Linked DNA regions of Homo sapiens: all the other regions are linked to region 1. The links are contacts of gene promoters, found by promoter capture Hi-C in blood cells and fetal thymus (Javierre and others, 2016). All regions are on one chromosome and are shown on one strand. The core of a region is centred on a gene start or on the middle of the fragment in contact, and the rest is flanking DNA. Distances in the headings are between cores, read along the strand shown.

Region 1 (2,700 bases), core at 201-2,700:
AACAGCTCACATCTGTCCAAACTCCTTACCAAGCTAGCTAGAAGCATCCCCTCTCTTATAAGCCTTATGTGCTGTCTCCCTGCTAGTATGTTCCTTGAGGACAAGGATTTCGCCTTACTTATCACTATATTACCAGTGCCTGGAATAGTGCTGCTCATCCATTCGTAGGTTTTATACATTCAATTAATATCTATGATGCTCAGTAAATATTGAATAAGTGAATAAAGTATTCAGTGAAAGAACAAATACGTGACATGGCTCTTACCAGTTTAAATGGTGTGGTTATTTTCTTTTTCTTATATGAATCTTTTGCTCAAAACATACCTACTCATTGTTTCCTGAACACATCATTTACTTTGCCACCTCTGTGATTTTGCTCACACAATTTCTCCAGTTCGTAACACCCTTAACACTCTTCTCTGATAATCAAAGACCTTGACCTTTAAGGCCAAGCCAAGTACCACCTTCAGGGTGAATATCTCCCCAAGGACCCAAGATTTCAGTGACTTAGTCTCTCACCTTCTATTATTTTTATGGTCTCTATCTACTTAGCACACATCCCATATACATTTTCTATTTAAGGATATATTCTTTCTTCCCAACTAGATTTTAAATCTCATGAAAACAGCAGTCCTATTTTATTTCCACATTTATATTCAATTCCTAATCTAATATATATATAATTATATAAAATTATATATATATTTTATATACGATATAAATTATATATTATATATAATTATATGTATAATTTTATATATAATTATATATATATATATATATATATATATATATATATATATATATCCTATCCTCTTGCCCGGGCTGGAGTGCAGTGGCATGATCATAGCTCACTGCAGCTTCGAACTCCTGGGCTCAAGCAGTCCTCCCACTTCAGCCTCTTGAGTAGCTGGGACTACAGGCATGCACCACCACTCCTGGCTAATTTTTGTATTTTTTGTGGAGACAGTCTCGCTCTGTGGCCCAGGCTGGTCTTGAATTCCTGGGCTCAAGCAATCCTCCCACCTTGGCTTCCCCAAGTGCTGGGATTACAGGAGTGAGCCACCATACCCAGCCATAACAAGTATTTAGTAGTTTCTAATGATAGTTAGATTTTTTGCTTTGATATCATCATCATAAAAGATCTGGGGCACTCTTCAAACCTAATTTAGGTTGTAATTGAATAATGAAGCAGTTAAAATATGACAGTAATATTTCCATCAAACTTAATCCTATACGTTACGTTAATGTATCTGTATATACATTTACCATAATGTACACAGTCATTAATTATACATGGTTGTTGCTGTATGTTAATGTACTATGGTTCAGTTTTCAAAGGCAAATGTTATAGTGCATTCCAGGACACCTGTGTCCACGAGATAAGTTCTTTGAAACTATATTTGGATCTGCAGGCTATTAAAAGCTTCTTGTACTGAGTGACCTTTCAGGCAGAATGTAGACTGAGCGCTCCTGCTACTGCTGCCTGTTGCTGAGAGGAAGACCGCAGAAAATTCTGGATTCAAACATTTATTGCTTTTTTTGTTTTGCTTTGTTTTTGTTTTCTTTCCTTTTGCCTTCAGAAGATGAACAATGAAACCACAACCCTGATATCCTTGAAGGAGGCAATGAAAAGGTTGCTGAGGGCTATAGGGAGGGAGCAAGCATGGGTCTGCTATTCTGGGAAGATGGGTAAGAGAAGAATGAAGAATAGAAATAAAGAACTGCAGACATGCTCATTAGAATTCTGTCTCTGTGGCCGGTGCGGTGGCTCACACCTGTAATCCCAGCACACTGGGAGGCCGAGGTGGGCGGATCACAGGGTCAAGAGATTGAGACCAGCCTGGCGAACATGGTGAAACCCTGCCTCTACTAAAAATACAAAAATTACCCAGGCATGGTGGCGGGCGCCTGTAGTCCCAGCTACTTGGGAGGCTGAGGCAGGAGAATCACTTGAACCCGGGAGGTGGAGGTTGCAGTGAGCCGAGATCGTGCCACTGCACTCCAGCCTGGCAACAGAGCAAGACTCCGTCCAAAAAAAGAATTCCGTCTCTATTACAGTGGTTTAAGTCTTCCAGGCCCAAACCTATGTAAATTAACAATAAAGAAAAGTCTGCTCCCAGGTGCTGTAACTCCATTGAATGTATGCATATGCTAAATCCTAGATTTACAAAAATAAGTAAAATGTGGTTTCTGCCCTCAAGGAGCTCACAGCCTGTAGGAAAGAGAAAAGTTTGAAAAACATTTACAATTTAATGTGACTGACCTTACAATGGTGATGTTCCTAAAGGTCTATGCGAACATGAAGGGAGGATCAACCAATTTTGCCTTTGACACTAGAAAAAGGAACTCTTCATATAGGGTCATTTAAGCTGGATCTTAAAGTGCAAGTAGGAGCTTATGAGGGAGAAAAATATGGGAAGGCATTCTAGGCTGAGGAAACAGTGCATATAAGCCATATGTAAGCTTGGAACCACATAATGTATTCAAGCAGCAACTAGATGTCTCGTGTAATTGGTAACTAGGATGGGTGAGGGGACTGGTGGAAGACAGGAGCAAAGGGTGAAGGCCCTTGACTTTCCTGCTGAGGAGATCCAGTTTGCCTCTGAGTATATCACTGGGCAAGCCAGGATGACATAAACCATTTGTAATCAGTTGAGTCACAGAATCGGAATTGTGTTTTAGAAGAATGTGTCTGGA
Region 2 (2,700 bases), core at 91-2,590, 290 kb after region 1:
CTCTGGGTGGGACTGTAGATGATTTTTTTCTCTTTTTACTGTTCTGTATTTTCTTTCTTTCTTTTTTTTTTTTTAACTAAACCTGAATGATTTTTATAATAGAAATGTTTAATTAAAAAAACTCAGACAATAGGCAAAGTCCAGATAGGAAAAAGCCAACATTAATGCAGGTGGTTTTCCAAAACCAATGTTCTGTGGTTGGGAAGCGGGGGCCATTGCTAGAGCCTCTCTTACCCCCAGCCCCGTGTGCTCATCAGCCCTTGGAGAGCGTAAAAACTGCCCTTTCACACGCCACCAACCCAGTCCTTCCCAGTCTTCATTTCCCTAACTGCTCCCTGCTCCGTGAAAATCTCCATTCCGGGTAACGTTATGTCCTCCTTCCGCCCACATCAGGGCTATTTGTATTTACACAGCTGTTTACTCGCTTATTCTCGGCTCTCCACCTTGTGGTGCACACTCCACGGAGGCAGGGACCTTGTCAAGCTTGTGCTCTGTTCTCAAACGCCCGGAGGAGTAACGGCTCTGTAACTATTTGTTGAATGAAAGAAATAACCTATGAGAATTCCTATCATCATCTGCATTTCATAGACTTTTTCAGGAAACGAGGCTCAGAGAAGGAAGCACATCTCCCAGGGTCACACAGCCTGGAAGTGAAGGAGCAGAGATTTAAACGCAGGTATTCGTGACTAAGCCCACACTCTTATTAACCATGACACACAGTGACTCCAGGTGTGTGTACTCGTGGATATGGGAGAGATCATCAAAGGCAACCCTGGGAGGGCCGTTCCATTTATGAAGGTGAGGGTGGGGCAGATTCTGACTGTTCAACACAAATGGTTTTGCAGTGTCTTCTAACTGTTGCCTTTGGTACTCTAATTAGGAAAGGAAAAGTTCCTTAGCATCCATAGCCCGATACTGGGTCTGTCCATCAAACTATCTTCTTAGGAGATGGCCTCTTCTTTGCTGGTTAAACTCAATTTCCCCAAAAGGGCATCTAAATAGACACTATGGGACAAAAGTATTCCACAGCTGAAGAATTTTTGGAAATGCATTAAGGTTAAATGTGATGATTCCTGCAGAGCATACTGACATTTTTAATCTGCTAATTTACATTGTAAATTTCCAAAAGGAGGGTCTAGAACGCACCTTTTACAAAACTTAACTTTTTTTTTTTTTTTGAGATGGAGCCTTACTCTGTCGCCAGGCTGGGGTGCAGTGGCGCGATCTCGGCTTACTGCAAGCTCCGCCTCGTGGATCCAAGCAATTCTTCTGCCTCCGCCTCCCAGGTAGCTGGGATTACAGGTACCCACCACCATGCCCAGCTAATTTTTGTATTTTAAGTAGAGATAGGGTTTCACCATGTTGGGCAGGCTGGTCTCAAACTCCTGACCTCAAGTGATCCACCCGCCTCGGCCTCCCAAAGTGCTGGGATTACAGGTGTGAGCCACCGTGCCTGGTCACAAAACTTAACTTCCTACAGAACTCTGTTTCCATGAAGGACTCCTTGGGATTAAGAGTCTGAGACTTTGGGAAATGCTTGTCTAGTTGACCATTTTGAATATAATCATACTTATAGCAACTATTAAATTTCCCACTGTCTCTGGAATAGCAAAGACTACTTTTTAAAATAATGAAAACAGGAACATTAAATAAGAATTTGAAAAAAGAGTAATCACCCATAATCCCAGCTTTCTAACCAAAAATTATTTCCATGCTTGCATATTTGCTTCCAGTAGCTTAGGAGCACAGTGTAGAGCACTGGAGTCAGACACTTGAGTTCAAAGCAAAATGCCAGGCCGGGCGGGGGGGCTCACGCCTGTCATCCCAGCACATTGGGAGGCCGAGGCGGGCGGATCACGAGGTCAGGAGATCGAGACCATCCTGACTAACACGGTGAAACCCCGTCTCTACTAAAAAATATACAAAAAATTAGCCGGGTGTGGTGGCGGGCGCCTGTAGTCCCAGCTACTCGGGAGGCTGAGGCAGGAGAATGGCGTGAACCTGGGAGGCGGAGCTTGTAGTGAGCTGAGATCACACCACTGCACTCCAGCCTGGGGGACAGAGCGAGACTCTGTCTCTTAAAAAAAAAAAACAAAAAACCAAACCAAACAAACAAACAAACAAAAACAAAGTAAAATGCCACTTACTAATAGCTCTATGGCCATAGACAGGTTACTTATCCTCTCCTTAAGCTTCTTAGCAAAGCACCTGGCGTGTAGTATTTGTTCAATAAAAAGTAGCTTTAAGGCCGGGCGCAGTGATTCACGCCTGTAATCCCAGCCCTTCAGGAGGCCGAGGCAGGAGGATCGCTTGAGCTGGAGCGTTTGAGATCAGCCTGGGCAACGAAGTCAGACTCTGTCTCTACAAAAATTGAAAGTTAGCCCAGGCATGGTGGTGTGTGCCTGCAGTCCCAGCTACTCGAGAGGATGAGGTGGGAGGATCACTTGAGCCCAGAGCTCGAGCTGCCGTGAGCCGTGATTTTAAAATTAAAAAAAAAAAATTGATTCAATCATTCTTCTAGAATAATAGCTTTTTTTTCTCTCTCTCTTTTTTTTAAATTGAGACAGGGTTTCGGTCTGTTGCCCAGGCTGAGGCTGGTGGTGCAATCATAGCTCACTGCAACCTCGACCTCCTGGGGTTGCAGCATGGGCCACCGTGACTGGCCTGAAATAGTTTTCTTAGCATTTAATTTTAAGTTCG
Region 3 (2,950 bases), core at 57-2,556, 440 kb before region 1:
GAATTCAGTCTGAGTCGGGAGCCTTAGAAACAGAGGAGCCTACAGTGTAACTCCCAGTCCTAGTCCGACGGCCTGAGAGCTTGATTCAGGGAGGTGGGTTGGGGCACACTGGTGTGAGACATAGAGTCTGAAGACCCAAGAACCAGGAGCACCGATGTCTGAGGCAGGAGAAGATGGCTATCCCAGCTGAAGAGAGTGCAAATTCACCCTTCCTCCACCTTTCTGTTTTATTCAGACCCTCAATGGGTTGGATCATGCCCACCCACACTGGTGCAGCTGATCTTCTTAGTCTACCAATTCAAAGGCTAATCTTAGCTGGGCACGGTGGCTCACGCCTGTAATCCCAGGAGTTTGGGAGGCCAAAGTGGGCGGATCATGAGGTCAGGAGTTCAAGACCAGCCTCACCAACATGATGAAACCCCGTCTCTACTAAAAATACAAAAATTAGCCGGGCGTAGTGGCGTGTGCCTGTAATCCCAGCTTCTCAGGAGGCTGAGGCAGGAGAATCACTTGAACCTGGGAGGTGGAGGTTGCGGTGAGCCCAGATCATGCCACCGCACTCCAGCCTGGGTGACAGAGCAAGACTTCGTCTCAAAAAACAAACAAACAAAAAAACCACAACAAAGGCTAATCTCTCCCTGAAATACCCTTATAGACACTGCCAGAAATAATGTTCTACCAGCTATCTGGGTATCTCTTAGGCCAGTCAAGTGGACACATAAAATGAACCATCAGACTCCTTAGCAAATATGATCAGCAAGTAACCAAGTTACTCAGCAGAGGCCTCCGTTTCCCCATCTGTACAACAGGGATCCTAAGACCCACTGCTCCAGACTGTGGAAAGGATTAAATGAAATATGCATGTCACGTGCCTGGCAGTTAGTGGGCATAGAGTATGAAGTAGCTATTATTATTATTGTCATTTTTATTAAATGACAGATCCATTTTCAGTTTGTTCAGACAGTTGAATATATTATAATTTACATCGTGATAACCAACAACTGTTATCCTCAACAGATGCAGATCTGTGGATCCAGCGTAGCATCTGTAGCAGCTGGGACATCATTCCAGGTTTTGGGCCCGGTGTGTTGGCAACAACTGGATCTGAAGATGGCAGTCAGGGTGCTTTGGGGTGGTCTCAGCCTGCTCCGAGTGCTGTGGTGTCTCCTTCCGCAGACGGGCTATGTGCACCCAGATGAGTTCTTCCAGTCCCCTGAGGTGATGGCAGGTAAAACTCCGCATGTGTGGCTGAGACAAGCTGCAGCAGAGTCTGCTTGAGAAGCTGACGGGAGACTTTGTGGGGAGGGAGTAGCATGTCTGGGTAGATGAGTAGTAAATCCACAAGCAGAGCAGCAGCCTCTCTCTCTGGGGTAAGAACTTGGAAGTGGGGACTTCATATCTCCTTCCCGAGTGGTGACACTGACCTTCTGGGTAATGCTAATAAACCACCAGTCTCTTTGATGTATCCCTGCTTGGACCAACAATACAGGTCATTCAGAATGAGAGCTGTGTTGGACTTCCCATGGGAACACTTTTATTAGAGTTAGGCTTCCCCAGTGTTTGGCAAGAGCTTCCATAGGGCTGTGATCTGAGATCATGAAACTTCTCTTCTGTAGATTCAAGAGAGGGGTAAGGGAACCCAGACCTGGGACACTCACTCATCTGTTAGGCGGTGTGGGACACATCATGAGGCTGGTTGCCTGGCCCATACCGTCTCGCCCAAAGGCCTTGAGGCCTTTCAGATGTGATGGGCATGTGGGGTCATCCTCATAGTTCAAGACGGCTGCTTGAGCTCCAGCCATCAAGCCTACAGGCAGTCTTTCCAGCCAACAAAGGAGAAGGGCATTACTTCTCTCTTTAAGGTCATATTTTGAAGGGCGCATGCTTTTTGCTCATTTCTATCACACTGGGCAGAATGTATCATGAGGCCACACCTAGCTGCAAAGGAAGCTAAAAATTATAGTCTTTATATCTGACCAAGTGCCCAGAAAAAGAGTCAAAGGAGTCAGATGCAGTGGCTCACGCCTGTAATCCCAGCACTCTGGGAGGCTGAGGCAGGTGGATCACCTGAGGTCAGGAGTTTGAGACCAGTCTGGCCAAAATGATGAAACCCCATCTCTATTAAAAATACAAAACATTAGCCTGGCATGGTGGCAGGCGCCTGTAATCCCAGCTACTTGGGAGGCTGAGGCAGGAGAATTGCTTGAACCCAGGAGGTGGAGGTTGTAGTGAGCCAAGATTGTGCCACTGCACTTCAGCCTGGGCAACAGAGCGAGACTCCATCTCAAAAAAAGAAAAAAAAAAGTCTAATGAAGGAGGAGGGAATAGATATTTTGGAGGCATCAGCTTTCTTTGCCACAGGGCTCAACAGGTGAATTTGTTTTTTAAGTTAAAAGGCTCATCTTCTTTCCCTCACGTCGTTTTTTAACCAGAAAAGCAGCCAGATAGATTTGATCCTGGATTTTGCTTCCCTTTCAACATCTAACATAGATAGATAAAACAGCTGAAAGTCTGGAGAAATAAGTAGCAGAATCAAAGAGCCCGAATGATCCGCAGGCTGTATGATCAGCTCGAAACAGCCAGCAGGTGATCAAGCAAGAGACGCTGTGAACAATGAGGCTTGGAGTGGAGCTGCTCCCGCGCCCCCACCCCTCAGAGCTCTGGGACGTTGGGGCACAGGGTTACAGAACAGGCAGCAAGTATTTCTTAAATTATGTAAGTACTACTTGGATATATTCTTCTTACAAAAAATTTAAGTATCATAGGCAGGGTGCAGTGGCTCACGCCTGTAATCCCAGCACTTCAGGAGGCTGAGGCGGGTGGATCACCTGAGGTCAGGGGTTCAAGACCATCCTGGCCAACATGGCGAAACCCCATCTCTACTGAAAATACAAAAATCAGCCAGGCACAGTGGCGGGCGCCTGTAGTCCCAGCTACTTGGAGGCTGAGG
Region 4 (2,718 bases), core at 108-2,607, 320 kb after region 1:
CAAGGGAATGAGAAGAGGGTCACCCAACAACGGCTCTGCCTCCTGTTAAGAAAGCAACTGCTGCTTCTGCTTTGTGGCCAGGCAGTGTTTCAGGCTGAAGGAAGGCAAAAGCAATGGTGTTCCGAGCTCTGTTCCAGGGTGGCTGCTCACAGCCTCCGCCCTCCCTGCTCCTCACCTGACCTCCCCCGCAGGCAGCGTCCCAGGCTCTGCCTCTCCACGTAGGCCTCTGCCTCACCTCTTCTCACCTTTCCACGCTTGCCTCCTCCCTTCCCCTTGCTCCTCCTCCTGTCTTTCTCTTTCTCTTCACACTCTTCTGCTCTCCCTCGATTGCTCTCTCCCTCCTTCTCTCCCTCCCACTTTTCCTGAACCACAGCTTCCAGGAACACAGAGGCAGCTGTCTGACAGCTTCTCACGTCCTGGCTGCGGTTCCAGGAAGGCCCTGGTCTGGGCATGGAAACCCAGGGCACTGTCCACCAGGCTGGAGGCGGGGCCCGCACAGGGCACCTTCGTCTGCCTCTCCCTGGGGCTTCCGCCTCCCACCTGGGCACCCACTTTCCCAGCAGCTTTCTGCTTGGGGAAGTTCTGCTGCTGAAACTGGGGATTCCCAAAGTGGAAGGGGCCCTGCTGAACAGCCAGCCACCTCCCTCACTTCTCAGCAAGAAGAAAACCAAGGCGGTGGGGGACGCAAGGCGGGGCTTCCCCAAGATCACACAGCTGAGCAGAGGCCAGGCCAGGGGGTCCCTGATCTGCCACCTGAGTCCTGGGCCCTTCCTGCCACCCCACGGAGAGGAGACGCCTGGGTCAGAGGCCCGGCCTGTCAACAGGAAGGGCACGTTCTTCCTCCTAAAGGCCTAGTGATCTGACTCCAGTGTAGCAATGACAGCAATGACAACACAGTTGAATGCTAATGGAGGTCCAGGCCTGGGGAAGCACTCGGCCTGCGTTTGCTCACTTAGTCCTCAGCCTCCTGAATGAGGCGCTGCTGTTACTCTTGTGGGTGTCTCGGGCCTGCAAAGACCAGGTGTGCTGGGCTGGGGGCTTCAGGACTACTGTTTTTTATTTTTATTTTTTTATTTTTTTGAGACGGAGTCTCGCTCTGTCGCCCAGGCTGGAGTGCGGTGGTGCGATCTCGGCTCACTGCAGCCTCTGCCTCCCGGGTTCACGCCATTCTCCTGCCTCGGCCTCCCGAGTAGCTGGGACTACAGGCGCCCGCCACCACGCCCGGACAATCTTTTGTATTTTTAGTAGAGACGGGGTTTCACCGTGTTGGCCAGGATGGTCTCGATCTCCTGACCTCGTGATCCACCCGCCTCGGCCTCCCAAAGTGCTGGGATTACAGGCGTGAGCCGCCGCGCCCGGCCCATTCAGAGCTACTCTTGCACTGATCTCCTGCGATTCCTTGACTGAGTGACCAGGGAGGAAGGTCCATGGTCTGAGGACAAGTCCTGAGGTGAACAGGGCTCCAGGCAGGATTTATTCCATGGCCCATTAGTATCCTTTGGCTGAACCTGAGTCATGCTGAACCTCATCTGTCCCCGAGTAGTGGTGGAGGCATGAGGTCAGCAAGTGAAAGCACTGACCCCTGGGCAGGGCCCTGGGCTGTCTGGGCTGGGAGACTCCCCCAGTCAGATTTAGCTCCTAGATGCCTGTTCCTCAGCCCCTAATGGGAGTGGAAAGATCCCTCCTGCCTGCCTTTTCCTGGCAGGGCAGTAAGCGGCTGTGTAGGGAGCACAGGCCGGGCATCCGGAGAGCTGGGTGGACAGGTGGCTCTGCTGCCAGCTGGATGTGTGGCCCTGGATGAAGCCCCGACCTCTCAGAGCTGCTCCGATCTCAACGTGAAGTTGAAACCAAACTCCATGCCCGGCCGACCTCACAGTGCGCTTGTAGGATCAGAAGGGTACATGATGGGCCGGGCATGGTGGCTCATGCCTGTAATCCCAGCGCTTTGGGAGGCCGAGGTGGGCGGATCACCTGAGGTCAGGAGTTCAAGACCAGCCCGGCCAACATAGCGAAACCCTGTCTCTACAAAAAATACAAAAATTAGCCGGGTGTGGTGGCGCACACCTGTAGTCCCAGAGGCTGAGGCAGGAGAATTCCTTGAGATACGGAAGTGGAGGTTGCCGTGAGCCAAGATCGCGTCATTACACTCCAGCCTGGGCGACAGAAGAAGAAAGAAGAAGAAGAAGAGGAGGAGGAGGAAAAAGAAGAAGAAGAAAAGACGAAAAAGAAGAAGAAAAAGAAGAAAAAGAAGGGAGAACCTTCATGGACTTGTATTCCTTTTCTTAGGCCAGGTCCAGGTGGGTGTGCGGTGGTTGTAAAGGAAACAGTGAGAGGGTCTGACTCAGGCGTGGGGACCTGGAGGGAGAAATTCCCTTTCTCTTCTGTCTCCATTTTCTCTCCTTGGGCCCTGAGCCTTTTGCAGGCTCTGAATTTAGATTATCTGGGGGGTGGGGGTGGTGGCTCATGCCTGTAGTCCCAGCACTTTGGGAGGCCGAGGCAAGTGGGTCATGTGAGTCCAGGAGTTCGAGACTAGCCTGGGCAATATATTGAGACCCTGTCCCTATATAATAAAATAAAAAATTAAATTAAACAGGGCATTGGGAAATGGTCAAGTCCGAGGATGGGCCACCTCATTCTGACTCCCAGGCAGACGGCCCGGCTCACCTTTCTTGGGTGACCTTCTCAGCTCCCTCTCTTCCCCACCAAGTATCTATCCCT
Region 5 (2,771 bases), core at 222-2,721, 490 kb after region 1:
CCTTCCGTATGAATCTCTTTGCTCAGGCTGACTCTGAATGTCAGCTCTCACATGCTAAGCACACATTAATTTCTCTTATCCTTTATTCCCACCTAGTGTGCGGGTGGTTTTGAGAGGATCCTGTACGGTATGGTCCTCAGGTGCTTGGCAAAATGGGTCCACCCCCTCCCGGGTAACCCTGGCTCTAGGCCCTCTTCCATGTCCTGGCCTTCCCCAGCAGTCCCCTGGAGCCCTCTGGCGACCAAAACTCCACAGTGAAGCGCCGCCTGGAGTGGTGGCCGGTGAAGGGTTCCCAGTTCGGGACACGTTATTCCTCTTCTGTAAAAACTGCACCACTTTCAGCTAGACTCTCAGGCAAAGGCACAGAAAATTACCTGATTAGATTCATGATCTTTTAGAGGTTTCCTATCGCTGAGGTCATCTGAGCCAGCAGTTTTCAAAATGAGTTGACAGCTTCATATCCTAAAATGTTGCATTTAAATTCCAGTTAAAAATAGTTTAACTACTGTATTTTTCCATTCTAAGACAGATTTTTTTCATGCTTTGCTTTTTCTGGAGTTAGCATGCATCTTATAATTGATACACTTCATTTAATATGATGGGATCTCTTCTGTTCTTCTAAAAAATTATCAATACATTTGTGATGAATATTGGTTTAATAGCATCTCAGAATGTAAAACATCCAGGTTGCAATCATTACCTCTTCTACAATATTTAGGTGAAGAAGGTCATATTTCTTTCTTTTTTAAGTCAAATTATATCTAGCAGAAACTCCCATATATCAAGATGTGGAAGATTCCAATTCACGGAGGTTCCTCGTCATATTCTGTGCCAGACACTGGAGGCCGGTATGGTGGGACTTCATGCTCCGCACCTTCCTGTCTCACTACTTTTCCTGTGACTGCCAATTGCTGGCCCTTTACTCTGAAGGGGGTTAGAGGACGACTGCCTCTGGCATTGGGGAGGGGATACTCCTCACAGCACAAGAAGTGGCAAGAAAGCAGCTGACAAATGCTGGAACCTTGGCCACACCAACCACATCTGGGGAATTGCATGTGACTAGGGCCAAGCCCATTAGGAATGCTCCTTTTCTGGGAACATCTCTCCAGTATCTTCGTTTTGATTTCCCATTGGCTAGTCCAGCTTACCCCCTTAGATTATTCTAGATCTCCCCAGAAAATACCTGGGTAAGAGTTATCCAGGCAAATTCTCTTTTCCTCCTTTTAACCCTAAAGGCTATATTGGGTGTATGTGTGCACGTGTGTGTGCGTGTGCGTGTGTGTGCATGTGTGTGCCTGCGCGTGCGTGTGCTCGTGTGTGTGCGCGTGTGTGTGCGCTCATGCGTGCATGGGTGTGTGTGTGTTACAGAGAGATCTAATCTGCAGAAGCACAGCTTCTGGGAAAAGGGAAAAGGGCTGCTTTATTTCCTGATGCCTCCAAAGCACACACAAAGAAGATATAAGTTAGTACTTGCTCTAATATTCCATCTGTAACATTGAGCATTTAAAAGTCATAATAATACATTAAAATACCATGCCCATACAAGTGCATTTAAAATGTAGCATTAATGAAACAATTAAATGTCCCAACTTAACCTGTCTTCTTGCAAGCCACGAAATAAATTTCTCCCACTATCTCTATGTGTATGTTTACCATTTGTGCAAATTTACCACTGAAAAGAGATTGTAGACAATTTTTATTTTGATAGCAATCCACTCATGTAAAATTACACACAGAAATACTACTATAACCCATGTGTATTGCAAGATCCAATTAAATGTAAACCAAGGCCCATTTGTTCATGCATGTGTTTTTATGATTTTGTCTGTTGTTTCTCTGACTTACATATTTATAATACAGAATGTGAGAAGAGTGAGCTCTTTGTAGTTATTTAGCTTTAAGGCATAGACAACTGTTTTAGAACCTTTAAAAAGCAATTGCAGATTTTTTTAAAAGTCTCTTGAAATTACAAGTCCTTTTTAAAAATTATTATTCTTTGAAACTACTTTTCTGTATACATCAAGATTTATCAATAGCATATGAACAAAATAAAACGGGACAGGATGGTAATGGCCACCTCATATTGCTTATTTCTTTTATAATAACTAAGTCATATAAATTGAGCTCACAAAAATATTTATATTAATAAAATTATAATTTATCATTGGTAATGTCTGAGTTTTTCTTGTACATTTTTATGTAGCAAGAAAAAAATTTTTACTGTTAAAAATGGTTTTTAAAAAATCGCAGCAAGCCTAAGCCCCTTCATTTTACGAACACAATAACCTGAGGCTCATCAGGGCTGGTGACTCACACAGGCGCACACTCAGCATTGCTGGATGTCGGCTCAGGATCCAGAATGCATTTGAACAACTCACGCTAAGTTAATAAACGCACTTTAAGATAAGCCCATATTAATCCCAAAGTAACTAAACTTGTGGAATTTGTAAAAGAAGATGTTTATGAACGAGGACATGGCATTTCCACATTACTTCTGATTCTCCCCTTTCTAAAAGCAGAATCTACGGTCTCTATTTTCCCGTTGCGAGATTTCAGCGGAGAGCCTGGTGGCACTTACAGCAGACATCACAGATGCCTCAGCGTTTCGGATGAGGACAGTAAAGACCTTCCTTGCTTCATGAAACCTTCGTTTTCCAGGGGAGAAAACACAGGTTGAGTCTAAACTCAGTCCTCCTGTTGAAATATTTTAATGACGCTGAAAGAGGCTGTTGCGTTTGGCAGGTGCGTGTGGAGCTGTGTGGCCCTGCACT
Region 6 (2,700 bases), core at 101-2,600, 470 kb after region 1:
CTCCATGACGGTCAACAGCTTGCGCCAGAGCGGCATATTTGTTACAATGGGCAGCCTACACGGGTGCACCATTAGCACCGTCAGCATCATTAGTCTACTGTTTACGTTAGGGTTTGTTCTACGGTTTTTGACAAATATGTAATATCATTCTAGTAGCTTACAGAATAGTTTTTATTGCTGTAAATCTTGTGCTCTGCCCATTCATCCATCTCTTCTATAAGGCCCTGGTAACCACAGATCTTACTATATCCATAATTTTACCTTTTCCAGACTGTCATACAGTTGGAATCAGAATATAGCCTTTTCAGATTGGCCTCTTTCACTAAGCAATAGCATTTGTTTCCTCCATGTCTTCATGACATGATACCTCATTTCTTTTTAGCACAGAACAATATTCTGTTGTCTGCAGTTACCATAGTTTATCTAGCTCACCTACTTACTAAGTAATCTTGCTTCTAAGTTTTGGCAGTTATGAATAAACTGATAAGCACCTGTGTGTATATCTTTTCTGTGAACATAGGTCTTCAGCTCTTTAGGTAAATACCAAGGTACATGATTGCTGCTGTCTTCTAAGTGGGCGATCTCAGCCCACTGCAGCCTCCGCCTCAGGCAGTTCTCCTACCTCAGCCTCCGAGTAGCTGGGATTACAGGTGTCTGCCACCACGCCTAGCTAATTTTCATATTTCTAGTAGACGTGGGGTTTCACCATGTTGGCCGGGCTAGTCTTGAACTCCTGATCTCAGGTGATCCGCCTGCCTCAGCCTCCCAAAGTGTTGGGATTACAGGCGTGAGCCACCATGCCCAGCCTCTATTGGCAATTTCTAAATATACAATATATTGTCACCATATACCACATATGTAATTTTATTTATTTTTGAGACAGAATCTTTGCTGTCGTCCAGGCTGGGGCGCAGTGGCGCTATCTCGGCTCCCCGCAACCCCCACCTCCTGGGTTCAAGTGATTCTCCTGCCTCAGCCTCCTGAGCAACTGGGATTACAAGTGTGGGCCACCACGCCTGGCTAATTTTTGTATTTTTAGTAGAGATGGGGTTTCACCATGTTGGCCAGGCTGATCTTGAACTCCTGACTTCAAGTGATCTGCCCACCTCAGCCTCCCAAAGTGTGTGATTACAGGTGTGAGCCACCACCACGCTCTGCCTCCTTTTTTTTTTTTTTCCCGAGACAGTCTCGCCCCATCGCCTAGGCTGGAGTGTAGTGGTGCCATCGCAGCTCACTGCAACCTCCACCTCCCAAGTTCAAGCAATTCTTGTGCCTCAGCCTCCTGAGAGGCTGGGATTACAGGTGTGCTCCATACCGTGTCTTCAAACTCCCTTGTACCTCAAGCAATGCACATCTCAGTTTTGGCTAGCCACATTTCAGGTGCTCAGTAGCCACATGGTTAGTGGACACCAGCTCTATAGCAAAAGGCGTAATTGTTGAGAGTTTTCTTATTTTGGCCTTCTACCGTGTGGTTACCAAAAAATCCATCACACAATTGAATCTCATTGCTATGAGTGCCAGCCAGGATTCTTAAGTATGGCCACGAAAATTGTGGCCCCTAGAATTGGAAGCCTAATTGCCTCACCTATGCCCCAGCTTTCCCGTGTCCAAATTAGCCACATTCATACCCTTGAGAAGCAAGATGATTATTAAACTGCTGTATTCTACGGGAGAAACTGCCTATGTGAAAGGTCATGGGTTAGGAAGCTGTCCTAAACAAATATTTGTAAAACACCTGGTTATCTGCAAGACAGCTTTGCCTAGAATTCAATATCAGATACCAATGTCTTCCTTGTGGCTGTCAACAGGTTTAGGTGCTGAGTTAAATAAAGCCTTTGCAGTTTGCTGCATTTGCCCTTTAAGCTGCCTCATGCTTAATCCACCCCAAATGGACAGCTTTGTATAATTTTCTTTTCTTTTCTTTTTTTTTTTTTTCTGAAATGGAGTCTCATTCTTGTTGCCCAGGCTGGAGTGCAATGGCGTGATCTCAGCTAACTGCAACCTCTGCCTTCCAGGTTCAAGCGATTCTCCTGCCTCAGCCTCCCCAGTAGCTGAGATTACAGGTGCATGCCACCATGCTCGGCTAATTTTTGTATTTTTAGTAGAGATGGGGTTTCGCCATGTTGGCCAGGCTGGTCTCGAACTCCTGACCTCAGGTGATCCGCCCGCCTTGGCTTCCCAAAGTGCTGGGATTAAAGGCGTGAGCCACCGCACCTGGCCAGCTTTGTATAATTTTTAATGCCTTTTTTGAAAATATTCACATACGGTCAAAGTGCAGAAAAGTCTGTATTAAAAAGTATTTTCCTCTTAGTCTCCAGAGTTGTCATCCCTCTAAATCTCCACAATTACCAATTTTTCTTTTTTTATTTTGAGATGGTCTCGCTCTTGTCACCCAGGCTGGATTGCAGTGGCATGATTTCAGCTTGCTGCAACCTCCGCCTCCTGGATTCCAGCTATCCTACCTAAGCCTCCTGAGAGTAGCTGGGACTACAGACAGGCAACACCATGCCCAGCTAAGCTAATTTTTGTATTTTTTGAGAGATGGGGTTTTGCCTTATTACCCAGGCTGGTCTCAAACTCCTGGACTGAAGTAATACACCTGCCTCAGCCTCCCAAAGTGCTGGGATTACAGGTGTGAGCCACTGGGCCTGGTCATTTACCGATTTCTTATGTACATTTTCAAAGTTGTCTGTGCATAAA

Evidence for each region. Contacts are between HindIII fragments. The CHiCAGO score rates a contact against its expected background, and 5 or more counts as called.
Region 2: a fragment that was not itself captured here is called in contact with the fragment with the promoter of SMCO1 in region 1 in 5 of 17 cell types (endothelial precursors, M2 macrophages, M1 macrophages and 2 more); the score reaches 9.6 in endothelial precursors.
Region 3: a fragment that was not itself captured here is called in contact with the fragment with the promoter of SMCO1 in region 1 in 1 of 17 cell types (endothelial precursors); the score reaches 5.0 in endothelial precursors.
Region 4: a contact is called between a fragment that was not itself captured here and the fragment with the promoter of SMCO1 in region 1, in 1 of 17 cell types (endothelial precursors). The highest score is 5.1, in endothelial precursors.
Region 5: a fragment that was not itself captured here is called in contact with the fragment with the promoter of SMCO1 in region 1 in 4 of 17 cell types (endothelial precursors, M2 macrophages, erythroblasts and 1 more); the score reaches 13.2 in endothelial precursors.
Region 6: a fragment that was not itself captured here is called in contact with the fragment with the promoter of SMCO1 in region 1 in 1 of 17 cell types (endothelial precursors); the score reaches 5.7 in endothelial precursors.

Annotation. Positions count from the first base shown.
Region 1 is chr3:196,514,096-196,516,795 of GRCh38, reverse strand. It overlaps SMCO1 (single-pass membrane protein with coiled-coil domains 1), which reads left to right and starts at 1,450. Exons shown (of 3, transcript NM_001077657.3): 1 at 1,450-1,636. The coding sequence starts at 1,587. The HindIII fragment of the contact is 1,040 bases long and covers 1,429-2,468 here.
Region 2 is chr3:196,221,112-196,223,811 of GRCh38, reverse strand. The region is part of intron 2 of SLC51A (solute carrier family 51 member A); the gene reads right to left. Among named protein-coding and RNA genes, the nearest start is that of SLC51A, 5.9 kb to the right of the region's middle. The HindIII fragment of the contact is 1,709 bases long and covers 486-2,194 here.
Region 3 is chr3:196,950,099-196,953,048 of GRCh38, reverse strand. PIGZ (phosphatidylinositol glycan anchor biosynthesis class Z (Gwada blood group)) reads left to right here. Exons shown (of 3, transcript NM_025163.4): 2 at 1,018-1,228. The coding sequence starts at 1,018. Among named protein-coding and RNA genes, the nearest start is that of NCBP2AS2, 8.9 kb to the right of the region's middle. RefSeq lists a silencer at 1,397-1,691. The HindIII fragment of the contact is 3,758 bases long and covers 1-2,950 here.
Region 4 is chr3:196,190,340-196,193,057 of GRCh38, reverse strand. No RefSeq gene overlaps it. Among named protein-coding and RNA genes, the nearest start is that of ZDHHC19, 20 kb to the left of the region's middle. RefSeq lists enhancers at 1-594, 550-619, 1,580-2,198. The HindIII fragment of the contact is 5,680 bases long and covers 1-2,718 here.
Region 5 is chr3:196,023,707-196,026,477 of GRCh38, reverse strand. It overlaps LOC124909478 (a long non-coding RNA gene), which reads left to right. Exons shown (of 5, transcript XR_007096234.1): 3 at 2,520-2,672. Among named protein-coding and RNA genes, the nearest start is that of TFRC, 57 kb to the left of the region's middle. The HindIII fragment of the contact is 4,121 bases long and covers 1-2,771 here.
Region 6 is chr3:196,046,481-196,049,180 of GRCh38, reverse strand. No RefSeq gene overlaps it. Among named protein-coding and RNA genes, the nearest start is that of TFRC, 34 kb to the left of the region's middle. The HindIII fragment of the contact is 5,207 bases long and covers 1-2,700 here.